Linked DNA regions of Homo sapiens: all the other regions are linked to region 1. The links are contacts of gene promoters, found by promoter capture Hi-C in human tissues and cell types (Jung and others, 2019). All regions are on one chromosome and are shown on one strand. Each heading gives the region's core, a stretch centred on a gene start or on the middle of the fragment in contact. The rest is flanking DNA. Distances are from core to core; before and after follow the strand shown.

Region 1 (4,314 bases), core at 891-3,390:
ATGTGGAGGCGTTCACTTGTAGCTAGGACTTGTAGCGTTCACTTGTAGCTAGGACTCTAGCTACTAGGGAGTACGAGGCAGAACAACTGGTTGAACCCGGGAGGCGGAGGTTCCACTGAGCCGAGATCACGTCACTGCACTCCAGCCTGGGTGACAGAGCGAGACTCCATCTCAAAAACAACAACAACAAAAATAAAAATAAAAAATAAAAATACAAAATTAGCTGGGCGTGGTGGCTAGCGCCTGTAATCCCAGCTACTTGGGAGGCTGAGACAGGACAATTGCTTGAGCCCAGGAGGTGGAGGTTGCAGTGAGCCGAGATCGCACCACTGCACTCCAGCCTGGGTGACAGAGCGAGACTCCATCTCAATAAGTAAATAAATAAATAAATAAATAAATAAAAATTGCAACTCCCCCCCACCAACAACCTCTCCCCTCCACACTTTCTGACTCTCTTGCTTTATCTTTCTTGGATGCATTTATCTCTATTTGATCCACTTTCTACTTATTGACTTCTTGCTGTTTCCCTCACCACAGTGTAAACTTCAGGAGGACAGATGTGTTAGCTGTTGTGACTTCAGCACCTAGAGCAGTGCCTGGCACATAGCAGGTGCTCGATAAACCTTTGCAGGCTCAATCAGTGTCAGGAGGATGCACAGAAGAAGGCGGCTGCTCCCATCGCGCCCCCCTGCGCTCAGGCCTGGACGGAGAGGGTGGACAGGGCTCCATTCCACCCAGCTCACCCTGAAACTCAGGGCTCTGCCACTCTCCTGCACTGGCCGGGCTCCTTAAAGGCCAAACCTCATTTTCCACACCAGTCCCTGCCATTTACAGAGCAGGAAACTGAGGCTTGGGGAGGGGAGATGTCTGGGACAAAAGAATAAGGAGCGCTTAGGGGGCAGAATCTAACCCAGATTTTGCTGCCCTCAAAGGTCCTCTTTTTTATTGTTGTTGTTGTTTTTTAGACGGAGTCTCACTTTGTCGCCCTGACTGGAGGGCAGTGGTGCAATTTTGGCTCACTGCAACCTCCACCTCCCAGGTTCAAGCGATTCTCCTGCCTCAGCCTCCCGAGTAGCTGGGATTACAGGTGCCCACCACCACGCCTGCCTAATTTTGTATTTTTAGTAGAGACGGGATTTCACCATGTTGGCCAGGCTGTTCTCGAACTCCTGACCTCAAGTGATCGGCCTGCCTTGGCCTCCCAAAGTGCTGGGATTACAGGCATGAGCCACCACGCCCGGTCTCAAAGGTCCTCTTTAGGCCTCAATTTTAACTTAATTTCTTTTTCCCAAGGATAGAAGGTAGAATTTCATTTCTCACAAAGAAATGAAGTTCAGTCCACGCCATTTCTCTGACCCCTGTCGATACCCCCGCGTCTCTCTCCTAAGCCCCACCTCTGGACACGCCCCAACCGAATGTCTCTCTTACCCCAGACGGGCCTGGCTTTCCTCTGGGGTGAGTTGGTCGAATTCCTTGGCCACTTCCCGTCCCAGGAAAGCCTCATGGTCGTACTGGAAGTTCCCGTGGGCGTCATCATGGGGAGCGTCGCTCAGGGGGGCCGCCTGGTGCACCCTCCCCTGGCCATGAGGGCCTGCGTCTGGGGATGGCTTCCCCTGGGCCCCGTGCCTCAGTAGCAACAGAAGCAGCAGAACTGATGGTCGCCACATCATCGGTCCCTGGGGAGTGGCAAAGGCCAGGGGTCAGGGGTCACAGGGATGGGGACAGACACGGGATAGGAGAATGGCGGGGTGGAGGGGTTACCTAGGACAGGACAGGGAGTTGGAAGTTGGCTGCAAGCTTTCGGGCTCAAAAAGGGCGGGCGATGGGGGAAAAGAGGGCGGGATGCTTAGAGGTAAAGCCACCTATGGGGAGGACCGAATCTTCTGACGGAGTCTCAGGGGGGTCCCAGACCTGCCAGGGGGAATTACAGAGACAGACGTGGCGCACATCCCACGCAAGGTGCAGGGCATAGTTGTGGCCAGCGAGAGGTCAGGCAGGCTCCCCGTCATTGCTCCCAGTCCGGACCCTGGTCCTCGACCCGAGCCGCCCTCCCTGGACAGAGGCCCCCCACCCACTCCCTTTACCCTGTTATCCAGCTTCGCTCCGCTCTCCACGCTCCGCTCTGCGTTCCCGCAAATGTGCCCAATTCGGCCGCTCTCCAGTCAGGCCCCGCCTCTGGCAGCGCAGAGCCCCGCCCCCCGCCCAATGAGCTCGCACGAGCGTCTCACGGGGCGGGGCCAATGAGTGCACGGGGTGCCGCGGGCACTCCTCGCCACGTCCACAAAGGAAACCGCGGCCTGCCCGGGGAAGAAGGGTGGGCGACACCGCAGTGACGCGGCCGGGGAGAACTACAACTCCTGGCAGTCGTCGCGGCACTCTGCCGTCCACCTCCAGCTGTTCTAGTCACAACGCCTCACGGGAAATGTATTTTTCCCTTTCCCTTTGTCAGGATGGTTTAAGAAAGAGGTGTACGTTCCAACACTTCTATACCAAACAAAACAAAACAAAACAAAAATAAACAAAAAGAACGAAAGAAAAGAAAAAAGGCCGGGCGCGGTGGCTCACGCCTGTAATCCCAGAACTTTGGGAGGCCGAGGCGGGCGGATCGCCTGAGGTCGGGAGTTCGAGACCAGCCTGATCAACACGGAGAAACCCCATCTCTACTAAACATACAAAATTAGCCGGGTGTGGTGGCGCATGTCTTTAATCCCAGCTACTTTGGGAGGCTGAGGCAGGAGAATTGCTTGAACCTGGGAGGCGGAGGTTGTGGTGAGCCGAGATCGCACCATTGCATTCCAGCCTGGGCAACAAGAGCGAAACTCCGTCTCAAAAAAAAAAAGAAAGAAAAGAAAAGAAAAGAAAAGGGAGAGCAGAATCAAGGGGCCGGAGGAAATATCCCATTTCCTCCAAGAGTGAACACTGCTCCTCGCTCCTCTTCGGCTCCAAGGATTCAGGTGGTCAGACAGTAGCCAAGAATTCCTCAAAATGCCTGGCATGGCAGTCATCCAGTAAATATTTGTAAAAGTTATGAATTAAAAATACATGACCTCAGGTTGAGCACAGTAGCTCAATGCCTGTAATCCCAGAACTTTGGGAAGCTGAGGCAGGTGGATCACCTGAGGTCAGGAGTTCCAGACCAGCCTGACCAACATGGTGAAACCCCGTCTCTACTAAATACAAAAAATTAGCCGGGTGTGGTGGTGCATGCCTGTAATCCCAGCTACTTGGGAGGCAGGAGAATTGCTTGAACCTGGGAGGCGGAGGTTGCAGTGAGCTGAGATCACGCAATTGTACTCCAGTCTGAGCAACAAGAGCAAAACTCTGTCTTAAAAAAAAAAAAAAAAAGTGACCTTAGGCCGGGCGCGGTGGCTCACACTTGTAATCCCACCCCTTTGGGAGGCAGAGGCGGGTGGATCATGAGGTCAGGAGATCGAGACCATCCTGGCTAACATGGTGAAACCCCGTCTGTACTAAAAATACAAAAAATTAGCCAGGCATGGTGGCAGGCGCCTGTAGTCCCAGCTACTCGGGAGCCTGAGGCAGGAGAATGGCGTGAACCCAGGGAGGCGGAGCTTACAGTGAGCCGAGATCGCGCCACAGGACTCCGGACTGAGCAACAGAGCAAGACTCCGTCTAAAAAAAAAGAAAAAAGAAAAAGAAAAAGAAAATACATGACCTGATGTATAAAACTGGCAGGTTCCCCTGTGGCAGCATGTTACCTGTAGGAGAGATCCGAGGCCCAGCCGCCATTCAGTCCCCCGACTTATTCCCTTACCTCCCCTGCCTGAAAAATGATGAGAACACACTGATTCGGGCCCAAACTCGTGTTATATTATCGAGGTGGAAAACAGCCATATGTATTAGGAGGGGAAACTGAGGCAGACCACAGGACGGGGCTCCAGAGGGAGGACAACTAGGCCCAGAACCCCTTCTGGAGGCTCAGAGATGCCAGTGTTCCAGGAGGTCTCACAGCATGAAAGGGGCCTGACTACATTCGCTTTTAGCAGTCGGAATGGCGGATGGTCAGGCGGTGGCTGGAATCACATTTACATCCTTCAAATCAGCATCCTGGGCCTCCCCTGGGGTGGGCAGGAGGACCCCGGTGTCGTCTCCACGAAGGGAGATCCAAGGGGCTGAGGAGAGAGAGAGAGGGAGAGGTCATCAGAATCTCTGAGGCGCTCTGGGTCTGACTGGCGTCCCCCATTTGTGTGTGTGTCTCACACACTCTTCCTCAGTCTCTATCCCCTTCCTTCTGGGCCTTTGTCTCCCCTTCTCCCAATTTTCCGTCCCCCCTCTTTCTACATCTTTGCCTCC
Region 2 (4,639 bases), core at 1,588-4,087, 300 kb after region 1:
ACAACACATTCTTTAAAATATATGAAAAGCTTTGTTAGTTTATAGACCACACAGAAACAGGTCACAGGCCAGATGTATCCCACAGGCTATAGTGTGCCAACTCCTGATCTAGCACCATGTCGGTCCAACAAGGGGATTCTGGTGCCTAAACCAGCATTAGTTTGAATCCCCTACTTGGCCCCCTCAGGACTCAACTGCCATCTGGAGGGCATGACCACCAGGCTGTCCAGCGGAAAGAAAGATGCATCATTCCCAACAATGGTCAGCGGGCAAAATTGTACTTTTTTTTTGAGACGGAGTCTTGCTCTGTCACCCAGGCTGGAGTGCAGTGGTGTGATCTCGGCTCACTGCAAGCTCCGCCTCCCGGGTTCATGCCATTCTCCTGCCTCAGCCTCCTGAGTAGCTGGGACTACAGGCGCCCGCCACCAAGCCCGGCTAATTTTTTGTATTTTTAGTAGAGACGGGGTTTCACCATGTTAGCCAGGATGGTCTCGATCTCCTGACCTCGGGTCTCTGTAACTCCTCCAACACTTCTGTCTCAGGGACTATCCAAGATGCAGCCAAGAAGAGATGAAGCCTCTTCTGGGACTGCCACATTCAGTGACCAAACGGCCTGAGTAAAGTGTGTGCGGCCGGGTGTGGTGGCTCACGCCTGTGATCCCCCCACTTTGGGAGGCCAAGACGGGTGGATCACTTGAGGTCAGGGGTTCGAGACCAGCTGGCCAACATGGTGAAACCTATCTCTACTAAAAATACAAAAATCACCTAGGCATGGTGACGCCTATAATCCCAGCTACTTGGGAGGCTGAGGCAGGAGAATCGCTTGAACCCAGGAGGCAGAGGTTACAGTGAGCCGAGATGGCACCACTGCACTCCAGCCTGAGCAACAGAGCATCTGTCTCAAAAAATAAATAAATAAAGTGTGTGGATCAGGAAGAGGTAGGAAGGGGAAACCAGAAACCTTTTTGAGCTGATTCTTGAGGAAGATGATCCAACAATCAATAATACCAGACACCCGCAGATAGTGAGGAAGTTACAAAGTCCCATTGAATACCTTAAATATCAACCAAACTGCAATCAATGTCTTCCGGAGTTGGTGTTGGGGTTAGGTGGTTGCTGCCCCCTAGTGGACATCTTTAGGTTTAACATAGTGGAATGCGCCCAGCCGTTTAAGGGAACCCGTTTGAATTGAGGGCCCCATTGAGCCAGAGGAATTGCCTCAGGCAGGGGAGTGGAGGAGAGTTTTCTCCAAATGGGGTAGCTGCTGCGGGGTGCGGCGGCTCACACTTGTAATTCCAGCACTTTGGGAGGCCGTGGCAGGAGGATTGCTTGAGCCCAGGAGTTCAAGACCAGCATGGGCAACACAGCGAGACTCTGTCTCTGGAAAAAAAAAAAATTAAAAAATTAACCGGGTATGCTGGCGCATGCCTATAGTCCCAGCTACTCAGGAGGTTGAGGTGGGAGGATCGCTTGAGCCCAGGAGTTCCAGGCTGCAGTGAGCCACGATCATGCCACTGCACTCCAGCCTGGGCAACACAGCAAGACCGTCTCGAAACAGAAAACAGAAGAAACAGGGGTAGCTGTGACTTTTGTATGTAAAACTCAGAAGACCTGAGGACCAGACCAGCTGTGCTCTTAGACGTACCCTTTACCTTTGGCCATTTCCGGTATTGCTAGTGAAGCTGCAGTTAACCTACCCGAGAACAAGGGTGTGAGGCTGGGGAGTCAAAGGCCACCACAAGCCAGGCGTTTGCTTTCAAGGAGAGCTTAATAGTGATTCATAGCGGCCTTCTTTTCTTTTTTTATTATTTATTAGAAGAGAGACAGGGCCGGGCACGGTGGCTCACGCCTGTAATCCCAGCACTTTGTGAGGCAGAGGTGGGTAGATCCCAAGGTCAAGAGATCAAGACCATCCTGACCAACATGGTGAAACCCAGTCTCTACTAACAATACAAAAGTTATCTGGGCATGGTGGCAGGTGCCTGTAATCCCAGCTACTGGGGAGGCTGAGGCAGGAGAATCGCTTGAACCCCAGAGGTGGAGGTTGCAGTGAACCGAGATCGTACCACTGCACTCCAGCCTGGTCACAGAGCAAGACTCTGTCTCAAAATAAATAAATAAAATTTTAATTTAAAAAAAACAGAGATGGGTTTTCACTATGTCGCCCAGGCTGGTCTTGAACTCCTGGACTCAAGCAATCCACCCACCTCTTGGTGTGAGCCACCGCACCCAGCCCAGCTGCCCTTTCTTTTTAAAAGGAGTGTACTTGGTGGCCGTGTCAGGCAGGTGGCACTGTGGCACTGGGAAACGGCTTCCCGGAGCACTCCAGCAGCCATTTAGTCATTACAGTTGTGTTTCCTTTTCTACTGGGATCCCACATTGTTTCTGGTAGAGGTGAAGAGGGCGGCATATGCCACAGCCTCCGACTGGTAGAATCCTCTGATAACAAGGCATGTGTAGTTTTTTCGAGCATGTAAAGCATCAGTACCAATTACACCCGCTCAGTCGTGGAAACCACACAGCGGGACATTGAATTGGCTCTAGGTGCCACACCCAACGAGATCTCTTCAGCTTCCCTTCCCACTGGGAGCCTGACTGGTTGAATTCAGGTACTTGGACCAAGAAGTCTGTGGGTCAGGGACTACAGCCTCAGCCCTGGAGCAACTTGGGGCTGGGGGGCATCCCAGGGGGACAGCAAAGGCAGGGGAAAAAAACTCATTGTTGGTCGGGCGCGGTGGCTCACACCTGTAGTTCCAGCACTTTGGGAGGCCGAGGCGGGCGGATCACTTGAGGTCAGGAGTTCAAGACCTGACTGACCAACATGGAGAAACTCCGTCTCTACCAAAAATACAAAATTAGCCAGGTGTGGTGGTGCACACCTGTAGTCCCAGCTACTCAGGAGGCTGAGGCAGGAGAATTGCTTGAACCTGGGAGGCGGAGCTTGCAGTGAGCAGAGATCGCGTCATTGCACTCCAGTCTGGGCAACAAGAGTGAAACTCCATCTCAAAAAAAAAAAAAAAAAAAAAAAAAGGGCCGGGCATGGTGGCTCACACTTGTAATCCCAGCACTTTGGGAGGCAGAGGCGGGTGGATCATGAGATCAGGAGATCGAGACCATCCTGGCTAACACGGTGAAACCTCGTCTCTATAAAAAATACAAAAAATTAGCCAGGCATGGTGGCGGGCACCTGTAGTCCCAGTTACTGGGGAGGCTGAGGCAGGAGAATGGCATGAACCCAGGAAGCAGAGCTTGCCGTGAGCCAAGATCATGCCACTGCACTCCAGCTTGGGCGACAGAGCAAGACTCCATCTCAAAAAACAAACAACAAAAAAACTTCATTATTGACCTCTCTATCGGCTCACTTGGCTCCTCCCTCCAGGATCAGTGCCAGAGCTGCAACCCAGGTACCTCCCAGGACCCAGCAAGTTCTTAGGCACAGAGGCCCCTCTCTTTCTGCTCTTCCACAGATGGCCAGGCTCAGCCCTCCCAGTCCTCAGCATCTTTGACCAGCCCTGCACCCAGCTGTGGACTGGATCCAAATTGGACCGTGGTGGGGCCAGAAACACTCGCAGGGTGGGATCTTCACTAATGTTTTCAGCCCACTGAAGGCTCAATATCAAATAGCAAGGCAGGGCATAGCGGCTCATGCCTGTAATCTCAGGGCTTTCGGAGGCCGAGGTGATTGCATCACTTGTGCTCAGGAGCTCACGACCAGCCTGGGAAACATAGCGAGACCTCATCTCTACAAAAAAATTTTAAATTAGCTGGGTGTAGTGGTGCATACGTGTGGTCCCAGCTACTCGGGAGGCTGAGTGGGGAGGACCCCTTGGCCCTGGGAGTTTGAGGCTACAGTGAGCCATGTTTGCGCCACTGTACTTCAGCCTGGGTGACAGAGCAAGACCCTGTCTCAAAACAAAGAAACAAATAACAAGGTCCTTGTTGCTGATACCACTTCGGTTTCAGAGACCCTTTGACCCAGCGGCCACAGCCATGCTGCCTCTTGGTTGGGTCCCTGGGGCTTGTTGTCTCATTTTCATGATCCCATTTCTTCCTCCACCTGCCTGGAGAAGGGTAAGAACCCAGGTGCAGCCAGGCACCATTTGCCCACTGTTTTGCCCACTGATTTTGATCCTATCTGTAGCCACTGAGCCTCATTAACAAGTAGGACAGGCTGGGTGCGGTGGCTCATGCTTGCAATCCCAGCACTTTGGGAGGCCGAAGCAGGTGGATCACCTGAGGTCGGGAGTTCGAGACCAGCCTGACCAACATGGAGAAACCCCGTCTCTACTAAAAATACAAAATTAGCCGGGCGTGGCGGTGCCTGCCTGTAATCCCAGCTACTCGGGAGGCTGAGGCAGGAGAATTGCTTGAACCCAGGAGGCGGAGGTTGCAGTGAGCCGAGGTTGCACCACTGCACTCCAGCCTGGGCAACAACAGTGAAACTCCATCTAAAAAAAAAAAAAAAAAAAATACAAGTAGGACAGTGAAGACCTCTATTCCTGGCCATCCTCCTCTACTTGGATGAGAGAATTCCCTACTGGATCCCAGGGATTCTTCTCATATTTTTGAACCAGGCCCATGGAGGCCCTGTCCTTCCAATTCCAGAAAGCCACGCCTCTGTCAACATCCCATCCTTTTC
Region 3 (4,952 bases), core at 2,453-4,952, 370 kb after region 1:
ATCGCGCCACTGCACTCCAGCCTGGGGGACAGAGCGAGACACCGTCTCAAAAAAAAAAAAAAAAAAAAAAAAACTAGAAAGCCTGGATCCGCTTGAGAGGCCGTCACTGAAGGGCGGGAGCTCCTCGCGGACGCACACACCCTATCTAGCTCAATTGGTGTCCCCGGCCACCAAGACAGGGCCCGCCCGCGGTAATAATTGCCACCTCCCAGTGGGAGCTGCAGATATTTCCCAGCGTCCTGTGCTGGGCGCTGTGCCAGGAATATCACAAGCATTAACTTGTTTAATTCTCATAATAACCCCAGGAGATCAAGCCTCTTTTGATGCCCAGATGAGAAACGGGACCCAGAGAGGTGAAATGATTTGCCCGAAGCCACACAGCACGTGTCCCAGGGGAAATTGGAACCCTGGCAGGGCCGTTGAATTAGGCTAAAGGGACCTTGGGAGCGCTGAGTGAGGGTTTCTTGCATGGATGGATGAATGAATGAATGAATGAATGAATGAATGAATGAAACAGAAATACCCAAAAGGGAAAGACAGAGACACAGAAAGTGACACGAAGAGACAGAAGCACATAGAAGAGACATCGGGGAGGAAAGAAGCAGAACCGAGCCCTGGAGCGTCTACACTGACCCTGAGCGGGAGAATGGCGAATGGGGAATGAGGGGTGTCTACACAGACCCAAACGCTCCTAGAGGGAGAGCGTCGGCAAGGAACGCCCTTGGGAAGGTCCCCGAGTCCAGGAATGGGGAAGGAGCAGGGCTGGGGCGTGACCATCCGCGGGCGGGGTCAGCGGGCCGCGGACCCTCTGGGGTCAGTCCAGGGGCGAACTCCTCACCCCGGATCTGTGGAGTCAACTATGAACGTCGTGCAGGTCTTCTTCTTGAAGATCTTGGGGATCCAGCTCTGGGGACAGGAACAAATGTAGGGGTGGAAGTGGGGTGAGAGGGCACCCAGTTCTGTCCTATGGGACACAGAGCCACCCACCCCGTGCGCTCCCCACGGACACAGGAGTCCGGGCCCCCAGCGCCCTCCCGCTCCAGACTCAGGAGTCTCGACCCCCATGCCCTGGACCCTGGAACCTGGACCCTCCCATCCCCCTCCTCCGTCTGACCCAGGAATCTGGGTGTCCAGCGCCCTCCTCTCTGGGAGCCTGGAGGCGAGGTCCCCAGCTCCGCGCTCCCGCAGACCCTGGTCCGGCGCTCACCTGCTCCTTCTCCGGCACCACCATGCTGCCGCGGCCGCCGCAACCTCCTGCAGCCCAGGGCCCCGGCGCTCCCTCCGCCGGCTCTGCTTCCAGACCCGCCCAGAGCAAACCGGATCCTCCACTTTCCAGCCTAGCCTGGGGCGGGGCGAGGTCTGGGGGGCGGGGAGTCTTGGAGACGCCAAAGCGGGAGGCGGGGAGAGGGCGGGTCCCAGGCCGCGATAAGGGGACAGAGGGACAGCGACCTGGGGGGTGCAGAGGTCCGGGCCGGGGGGAGAGAGACACACAGGGGAGACTCCAAGGGCAAGCGCGAGATGGGAACAGAAGGAGTTGGGGGCCAGTGGCGGAGAGGGAACAGACTCAGAAAGGAGGATGCCAGACAGGGAGGGGACAATTTAACCCAAAGAGGGGGAGACAAAGACTTAGGGGACAGAGAATCAGAAGGTGGGGCAGCAGGGACCCAGGGATAGACAGAGAGAGAGGGGGACAGAGACCCACAGAGAGAGGGGGACAGAGACCCAGGGAGAGGGGACAGAGACCCAGAGAGAGTGGGACAGAGACCCAGAGAGAGTGGGACAGAGACCCACAGAGAGAGGGGGACAGAGACCCAGGGAGAGGAGGACAGAGACCCAGAGAGGGGGGGACAGAGACCCAGAGAGGGGGGGACAGAGACCCAGGGAGGGGGGGACAGAGACCCAGGGAGAGGGGACAGAGACCCACGGAGAGGGGGACAGAGACCCAGGGAGAGGGGACAGAGACCCAGAGAGAGGGGGACAGAGACCCAGAGAGAGGGGGACAGAGACCCAGAGAGACGGGGACAGAGACCCAGAGAGAGGGGGACAGAGACCCAGAGAGAGGGGAACAGAGACCCAGAGAGAGAGGAGGACAGAGACCCAGAGAGAGGGGGACAGAGACCCAGAGAGACGGGGACAGAGACCCAGAGAGAGGGGGACAGAGACCCAGAGAGAGGGGAACAGAGACCCAGAGAGAGAGGAGGACAGAGACCCAGAGAGAGGGGGACAGAGACCCAGAGAGGGGGGGACAGAGACCCAGGGATGGGGGGACAGAGACCCAGGGAGAGGGGACAGAGACCCACGGAGAGGGGTACAGAGACCCAGGGAGAGGGGACAGAGACCCAGAGAGAGGGGGACAGAGACTCTGAGACAGAGGGGGACAGAGACCCTGAGAGAGGGGGACAGAGACCCAGAGAGAGGGGAACAGAGACCCAGAGAGAGAGGGGGACAGAGACCCACAGAGAGAGGGGAACAGAGACCCAGAGAGAGGGGGACAGAGATCCACAGAGAGAGGGGGACAGAGACCCACAGAGAGAGGGGAACAGAGACCCAGAGAGAGGGGGACAGAGATCCACAGAGAGAGGGGGACAGAGACCCAGGGAGAGGGGGACAGAGACCCAGAGAGAGGGGGACAGAGACCCAGGGAGAGGTGGACAGAGACTCTGAGACAGAGGGGGACAGAGACTCTGAGAGAGAGTGGGGACAGAGACCCAGAGAGGTGGATGCCAGAGATGGGGAGGAGACACCTTGACTGAGGCAAGGGGCAGAGGGGGATGCAAAAACCAAAGAATTGGGGGAAGGGCAGGAACTCAGAAAGGAGGGGCCAGAGATTTAGGGGAGAGAGAGGGACACAGACTTGGGGGAGGACTGACACTAAGATAAGAGTGGGACAGAAGCCCAGAGTGAGAGGGAGAGGCAATCCCATGGAGGAGGGACAGGGACCCTGAGAGAGCAGATGACAGAATTGAAGAGAGAGGAGGACCCGTGAACAGGAAAGGAGACCCTAGTGGGGGCAGTCATGAAGGGTGAGGAGTAGGAAATACTGACACACAGAGACGGGCAAGGCCACTTGTCTCCTGCCAGCCCTCTGTGATGGGGACAGCTGTGGCCTCCGTAACCTGAGTCCCCCTACCCCTCCCAGCTGTATTTATAGCCCTGGCCTAGCCCAGTCCCTGCCCCCAGATCTGAGTTCCAGGGACAGGAGGTCATGGGCACGTGTGTTGGGGGCCATGTTCCTTTCCCCCCATTCTAGGGCCTCAATACTGACATCACTCTCTCACCAGCACGTATCATTCCAGCTGGAAACACCCCGCAATCGAACCCCCAGTCCTTCCGTCCCAGGAGTCTCTCCCCTCTGATAAGTCTCTTCTGCCTCCCCCAGGTGCCCCAGGCTCCCCCAAAAACCTGCTAAAAGTCTAGCCTTTGTCTTTGCAGCTGCCAAACGTGAGCTTGTTGGTAGTTCAAAGTCAAGTCCCTTGGCCACCGTCTCCTGGCCAGGGAGAGACCCCTCACTGGTCCCCTCCCCAGCTGGGAGGAGGAGGAGCAGGAGGCAGGCAGGCGGGGACTGACCCAGAATAACTCAGGGCTGAGAGTAAATTTAGCTGGAGAGAGGGGAGGGGAAGGACCCTATTGGCTGGGGAATGGGGAGGGAGGGCCCCAGAGGGGGGTCAGGGGGCTCCGGAGACAGCCTCAGAGGGGTGTCCAGAGCCAGGCAGCAAGGACCAGAGGAAGGTGGACAGAGACCGAAAGGACAAAGGAGAGACACAGAGAAAAAAAGAGACCAACCCCAAAGGGACAAAGACCCCAACGTTTGTCCACATTGCCGCAGAGGCAGCTGGAGCCAGTGCTGCCTGTCCGTCCCCATGGGCCACCATAGGCCATGGCTGCACGCTTCTGTCCTCTGGGCTGGGGTGGCCAGCCTGCTCCTCCCCCCGGCCATGACCCAGCAGCTCAGAGGGGATGGGCTAGGCTTCAGAAACCGGAACAACAGCACTGGAGTCGCCGGGCTCTCCGAGGAGGCATCAGCAGAGCTTCGCCACCACCTCCACAGCCCTAGAGACCATCCAGATGAGAACAAGGATGTTTCCACAGAGAATGGGCATCATTTCTGGAGCCACCCAGACCGTGAAAAGGAGGATGAAGATGTCTCCAAGGAATATGGGCACCTACTCCCAGGCCACAGGTCCCAAGACCACAAAGTCGGAGATGAGGGTGTCTCAGGTGAGGAGGTCTTTGCAGAGCATGGTGGGCAGGCCCGTGGGCACAGAGGCCACGGGAGTGAAGACACGGAAGACTCAGCTGAGCACAGGCACCACCTCCCCAGCCACAGGAGCCACAGCCATCAAGACGAGGATGAGGATGAAGTTGTGTCCAGTGAGCATCACCATCATATCCTCAGGCATGGACACCGAGGCCATGATGGGGAAGATGATGAAGGAGAAGAGGAGGAGGAGGAGGAGGAGGAGGAAGAGGAGGCCTCCACTGAGTATGGACACCAGGCCCACAGGCACCGAGGCCATGGGAGTGAAGAGGATGAGGATGTCTCAGATGGACACCATCATCATGGCCCCAGCCACAGGCACCAAGGCCATGAAGAAGATGACGATGATGATGATGATGATGATGATGATGATGATGATGATGATGTCTCCATTGAATATAGACACCAGGCTCACAGGCACCAAGGCCACGGGATTGAAGAGGATGAAGATGTCTCAGATGGACACCATCATCGCGACCCCAGCCACAGGCACCGAAGCCATGAAGAAGATGACAATGATGATGATGATGTCTCCACTGAGTATGGACACCAGGCCCACAGGCACCAAGACCACAGAAAGGAAGAGGTTGAGGCTGTCTCAGGTGAACACCACCATCATGTCCCTGACCACAGGCACCAAGGCCACAGAGACGAGGAAGAAGATGAGGATGTGTCCACTGAACGTTGGCACCAG
Region 4 (4,724 bases), core at 295-2,794, 390 kb before region 1:
AGCTCCCGCCAGGCGACTGCAACAGTCTCCTCACTCCTCCCACACAGAGTCTCGGTGAGTCTTTCCCAACATAACCCAGACCCTGACCCACTCATGGTCTCATGCTCCCAAGGCACTCTGGTCTGGCCATTTGGCCTGGACCGCTTGAGCATCTGCCTTGGCTAAGGTCCACTTAGGAAGGTGTTGGTCAGTTGACTTCAGTTCTTGAAGGGCAGACTTGGAGCTGATCTGTTATTCAAGGTTTAGGGGGATTTTCTTTGACGCAAAGGAAAGAGGAACTGATTCAGGAGACGGTTAAGAAGCAGAGTAGTTAGACTTGTGGAGTTTGCAGACGGAGAATCCCAGCACTAGCACTCATGGAGATGGTCCTGGCCAGAGGTTCCCACGGGAGGGCAAGTGAGGGAAGGCAGTGTTGGAGGACGGCGTCTGAGCCTCAGCAGGAATCAAATTTCCCTGGGCTGAGCCCAGCCCATCTCTGATCTCCCCTTGTTTCTCTCCTCTCCACTCCCTCACTCTCTGCTCTTTTCTGCCCTGTTCTGGTCTCTCTGGTTCCACCGGTCATACTTCCCCCAAATCTGAAATAACGAATTCCATGGGGAAAGGGGAGGTCCCACGGAGACAGCTCCGCACCCTGTCCGTCTTGCATCTGGGCTCTGCGTTGTCAGCAGTGCCACCAGGTGGCTGTCAGCCGAATGCCATGGGCCTTTGTTCAAGTGCCTCCCAGAACTTTTTTATTTGTTTGAGACGGGGTCTCGCTCAGCCGCCCAGGCTGAAGTATGGTGGCATGATCACAGCTCACTGCAGCCTCAAACTCCTGGGCTCAAGTCATCCTCCCACCTCTATCTGGGATCACAGGCACACGCCACCATGCCAGGCTAATTTTTGTTTTTTTGTTTTTGAGACGGAGTCTCGCTCTGTCTCCCAGGCTGGAGTGCAGTGGTGTGATCTCGGCTTACTGCAAGCTCCGCCTCCCGGGTTGATGCCATTCTCCTGCCTCAGCCTCCCGAGTAGCTGGGACTACGGGCACCCACCACCACGCCTGGCTAATTTTTTTTTGTATTTTTAGTGCAGACGGGGTTTCACCATGGTCTGGATCTCCTGACCTAGTGATCCGCCCGCCTCGGCCTTCCAAAGTGCTGGGATTACAGGCGTGAGCCACCGCGCCTGGCCTAATTTTTGTATTTTTAGTAGAGATACAAAAATACAAAAGATACCGGGAGGCGGAGCTTGCAGTGAGCCAAGATCCCGCCACTGCACTCCAGCCTGGGCGACAGAGCGAGACTCCGTCTCAAAAAAAAAAAAAAAAATACAAAAGATACACCATGTTGGCCAGGCTAGTCTCGAACTCCTGACCTCAGGTGATCCACCCACCTCAGCCTCCCAAAGTGCTGAGATTACAGATGTGAGCCACCACACTTGGCCAACACTTAATTCTAACATCTTTTCCTCAATGAAACTCTCCCGTCCCAGGCAGAATGTCAAGACTTGGCCCTGGAAAGCTCTGGTTTCCCATCATGGGTCTGCTGTTTGCTGGGTGGCCTTGGGGAGTCTGCACTTGTTTCCCACCCAGGAAGGGCTCGGTGTGCTGCAGTGCAGTGCTCTGGCACGGTGCCGGTTACACAGTAGGTCCCTAGTAAATGGTTGTTACTGAGTCCCTACTGTGTACCAGGCACTGCTGCAGGTGCTGCGAATACAGCAGGGAACAAACGGAAATCTGGCCCAGTGGAGCCGACACCATCCCCACCGTTAGCCTTCCTCTGTGTTCGGAGGCAACCTTGTCCTTCCCTCCCATCATAGATGGCCTATCGTGGCTGGGTGTCAGTGGCAATCCACCCACACACATCCACAGTCCTGGCAGGGTTGCCCCAGCACCAGGGGATGTCTGGATTTTCAGAATCACACCTCACTTTCCTTTCTGTACCAGCCGCCTTGGTCTCCATGCACAAGGGCAGACCTGCCCCTGACCCCAGCCCCTTTCTCAACCCCAGCTCTGCTCTGTGTATTCCCATCCACCTATCTAGATTTCATTCTGTTCTTTCTCCATCGTCCCTCAACCTACCGCCATTGGTTTCTAGTGGCTGCTGTAACAAGTCATCACAAATGTAGTGGTTTAAAGCAACACGAATGTATTTTCACAGTGCTGGGGGTCCAGAGTCTAAATGGGTGCATGGTGTGTAGTTCCTCTGGGAAACTCTAGGGGAGAGGCTATGTCCTTCTTTAGCTCTAGAGGCCGAAGCCGCCTGTGTTCCTTGGCTTGTGGCCCCCTCATCTTCAAAGCCAGCAGCACAGTGTCTCTCAGTCCATTCTTCCATAGGCACATCTCCCTCTGACTCCTGCCTCCCTGAAGAACCCCTGTGGTCACCTGGGGCTCACGTGGATAAGCCAGGGTAACCTCTTTATCTTCATCACATCTGCAAAGTCCCTTTGCCATGTAAGGTCACATTGACAGGGTCCTGGATCAGAGTGTGGGCATGTTTGGGGGCCGTTTTTCTGTCTACCCCCCCACACACATAGCACACATCCTTCCTAATTCTTCCTTTCCTTTTGGTCCAAAGCTGAGGTCTCCTGTATTCTTTCCCAGGCACAGACTCCTGTCCCAGGCATCTAAGGAAAGGGGTTGGGGGCCGGGCACAGTGGCTCACTCCTGTAATCACAGCACTTTAGGAGGCCAAGGTGGGCAGATCACCTGAGGTCAGGAGTTCAAGACCAGCCCGGCTAACATGGTGAAACCCCGTCTCTACTAAAAATACAAAAATTAGCTGGGCATGGTGGTGCACGCCTGTAATCCCAGCTACTCGGGAGGCTGAGGTGGGAGAATTGCTTGAACCCGGGAGGCGGAGGTTGTAGTGAGCCAAGATCGCACCACCACACTCCAGCCTGGGTGGCAGAGCAAGACTCCATCTCAAAAAAAAAAAAAAAAAAAAAAAAAAAAAAACTGGGACTTGGAGTGGCACAAGAATCACAGATGGAGGTAAGGTAGTAGAGCTGACCGAAGGCTGGGGTGACAGCAAAGAACCCTGGTTCTCACAGATGGGGGTGGGATATGCCCACCTGAATTCAGATGATTCCGCATCTGAATCCCAAGCGGGTCTTCCTCCGGGTTCCCAGGGCTGTGAAGGCGGCCGTGTTGTTTGAAACTCAAGGGTAAATGTTGGGGCAGGCAGGCAGGAAGGGAAGGGACTGGCGGCTCTGCCAGCACTTTCCTTGGTGACCTCAAGGCAGCGCTTCTCTGGAGCTGTGTCCTGCCTGGGTGAACTACAGATGGTCACAGCCACCCAGCCCTGAGCACAGGCCCAGGCATACCCTCCTCCTTTCCCTGGAAATGCAACACTCCCTCAGTTTGGGTTCCTCCCTGCTTCCTCCACCGCCACCAGCACCATCAGCTTCTTTGGTAAGGAAACTCTCCCCTTTGGCAAATGTGGTAATTCCGGGATCAGAGCTCGTAATAGTTTGCATTTGTGAGAAACTTCCCAAGTTCTAGTATTTGTGGCTTTTTGTTTTTTGTTTTTTGCCTCAAACTCCTGGGCTTAAGCAATCCTCCTGCCTTGGCCTCCGAAAGTACTGGGATTACAGGTGTGAGCCATCATGCCTGGCCTGTCACTGTTAACCTGGACAGACCCTGTGGTTTTGGTGCAAATTTAACACTTTGCTCAAATTGTGATGCTGTCCTCTCTGAGTTCCAGTTCGGGCCTCAGGCTCTTGGCCTGGACCTTCTCCCAGTCTTCTCTAAGCCACCTGGCCTCCAGCCTCTACCCCTACGGTTCATCCCCCACACCCATAAAGTCCGCCTGTGGCTCCCTCAATATAACGCCCGAACCGTTAGCATGGTATGTATGGGTCTGCCAGATTCTCCCGCCTGTCACGTGGCCCACAGTCCCCAAGACCACCCTGCGGCTCAGTGATGAGCTAAGACTCACAGAGCTCAGCAAAGCTTTCTACTCACAGTCACGGTCACGGTTTATTATGGAGAAATGATACAGACTGAAAACAGCAAAGGGGAGAGATGCAAAAGCCCCAAGGGAGACCAGGCACGAGCTTCCAGCTCTCCTCTGCAGGTAGAGAGAGTCCCGCGGACAGTGCTCAGTTCTCCCTGCAACAGCGTGTGGTAACGCTTACGGAGCAGTGGCGGCCCGGGTTGTGGGGAGGACATGGCGCACCCGTGTGGCTGAACTGAGGTCTGCTGACTCCAGCCCCTCCAGAGGTCGTGCTGATACTGTATGACCCAAAGCCCCCACTCTAGGTCACAGCGTCAACATGGACTCTCTAGAGTGGCCTGGGGCCCCAGGTAAACAAAGGCGCTCTTATCTGGCAGCACATTTCAAGAACATAGAGATTCTCCTGGAGCTGGTCAAGGGCCATTTTCTCTCTTTGGAATGTGCAGATTTGAACAGCCCAGGCTTGCCAAGTCACTCCTTCACACATAAACATCTCCCTTCAGAAGCACCAGATCACTTAGCACCCAGAGGCATGTCTGCTGTGTGGGCCTCCCTGTCTTCACACAGGCCTTTCCTCCCGCGTGGACGGCGCCTCTCCCCCGCCATCCTTTCCCTGGCTGATGCTGCATCTGCAACGCTCAGCTTCTCCCTGGAACCTGCTCCCACAGCATGTGGCCCGGCCCTGTGCCTGCCCTGAGCCCTGGTTGTAGAGCTGACATTTGACTCTGGCTGCCTTGAGGGCAGGGACCGTGGCTTAACCAGCCACTCTGGGCTTCACTTTCCTCATTT

What was found. Contacts are between HindIII fragments. The study calls those that stand out against the background at their distance.
Region 2: a fragment that was not itself captured here is called in contact with the fragment with the promoter of RCN3 in region 1 in 1 of the 25 tissues and cell types used here (dorsolateral prefrontal cortex).
Region 3: a contact is called between the fragment with the promoter of HRC here and the fragment with the promoter of RCN3 in region 1, in 1 of the 25 tissues and cell types used here (dorsolateral prefrontal cortex).
Region 4: a contact is called between a fragment that was not itself captured here and the fragment with the promoter of RCN3 in region 1, in 1 of the 25 tissues and cell types used here (dorsolateral prefrontal cortex).

The regions. Positions count from the first base shown.
Region 1 is chr19:49,525,829-49,530,142 of GRCh38, reverse strand. It overlaps RCN3 (reticulocalbin 3), which reads right to left and starts at 2,140. Exons shown (of 7, transcript NM_020650.3): 1 at 2,085-2,140; 2 at 1,429-1,676. The coding sequence starts at 1,670. It overlaps FCGRT (Fc gamma receptor and transporter), which reads right to left. Exons shown (of 7, transcript NM_001136019.3): 7 at 3,715-4,133. The coding sequence ends at 4,024. RefSeq lists a silencer at 2,063-2,182 and an enhancer at 1,646-2,224. The HindIII fragment of the contact is 21,368 bases long and covers 1-4,314 here.
Region 2 is chr19:49,222,696-49,227,334 of GRCh38, reverse strand. The region is part of intron 1 of LOC107985340 (a long non-coding RNA gene); the gene reads right to left. Among named protein-coding and RNA genes, the nearest start is that of TRPM4, 67 kb to the right of the region's middle. RefSeq lists an enhancer at 1,207-1,256. The HindIII fragment of the contact is 6,440 bases long and covers 1-4,639 here.
Region 3 is chr19:49,154,146-49,159,097 of GRCh38, reverse strand. HRC (histidine rich calcium binding protein) reads left to right here and starts at 3,702. Exons shown (of 6, transcript NM_002152.3): 1 at 3,702-4,952. The coding sequence starts at 3,861. TRPM4 (transient receptor potential cation channel subfamily M member 4) reads right to left here and starts at 1,306. Exons shown (of 25, transcript NM_017636.4): 1 at 1,208-1,306; 2 at 839-906. The coding sequence starts at 1,231. RefSeq lists a silencer at 81-267 and an enhancer at 951-1,572. The HindIII fragment of the contact is 31,868 bases long and covers 1-4,952 here.
Region 4 is chr19:49,912,938-49,917,661 of GRCh38, reverse strand. The region is part of intron 2 of NUP62 (nucleoporin 62); the gene reads left to right. It also overlaps a transcript of IL4I1 not described here. Among named protein-coding and RNA genes, the nearest start is that of ATF5, 14 kb to the left of the region's middle. RefSeq lists an enhancer at 4,391-4,724. The HindIII fragment of the contact is 9,177 bases long and covers 1-4,724 here.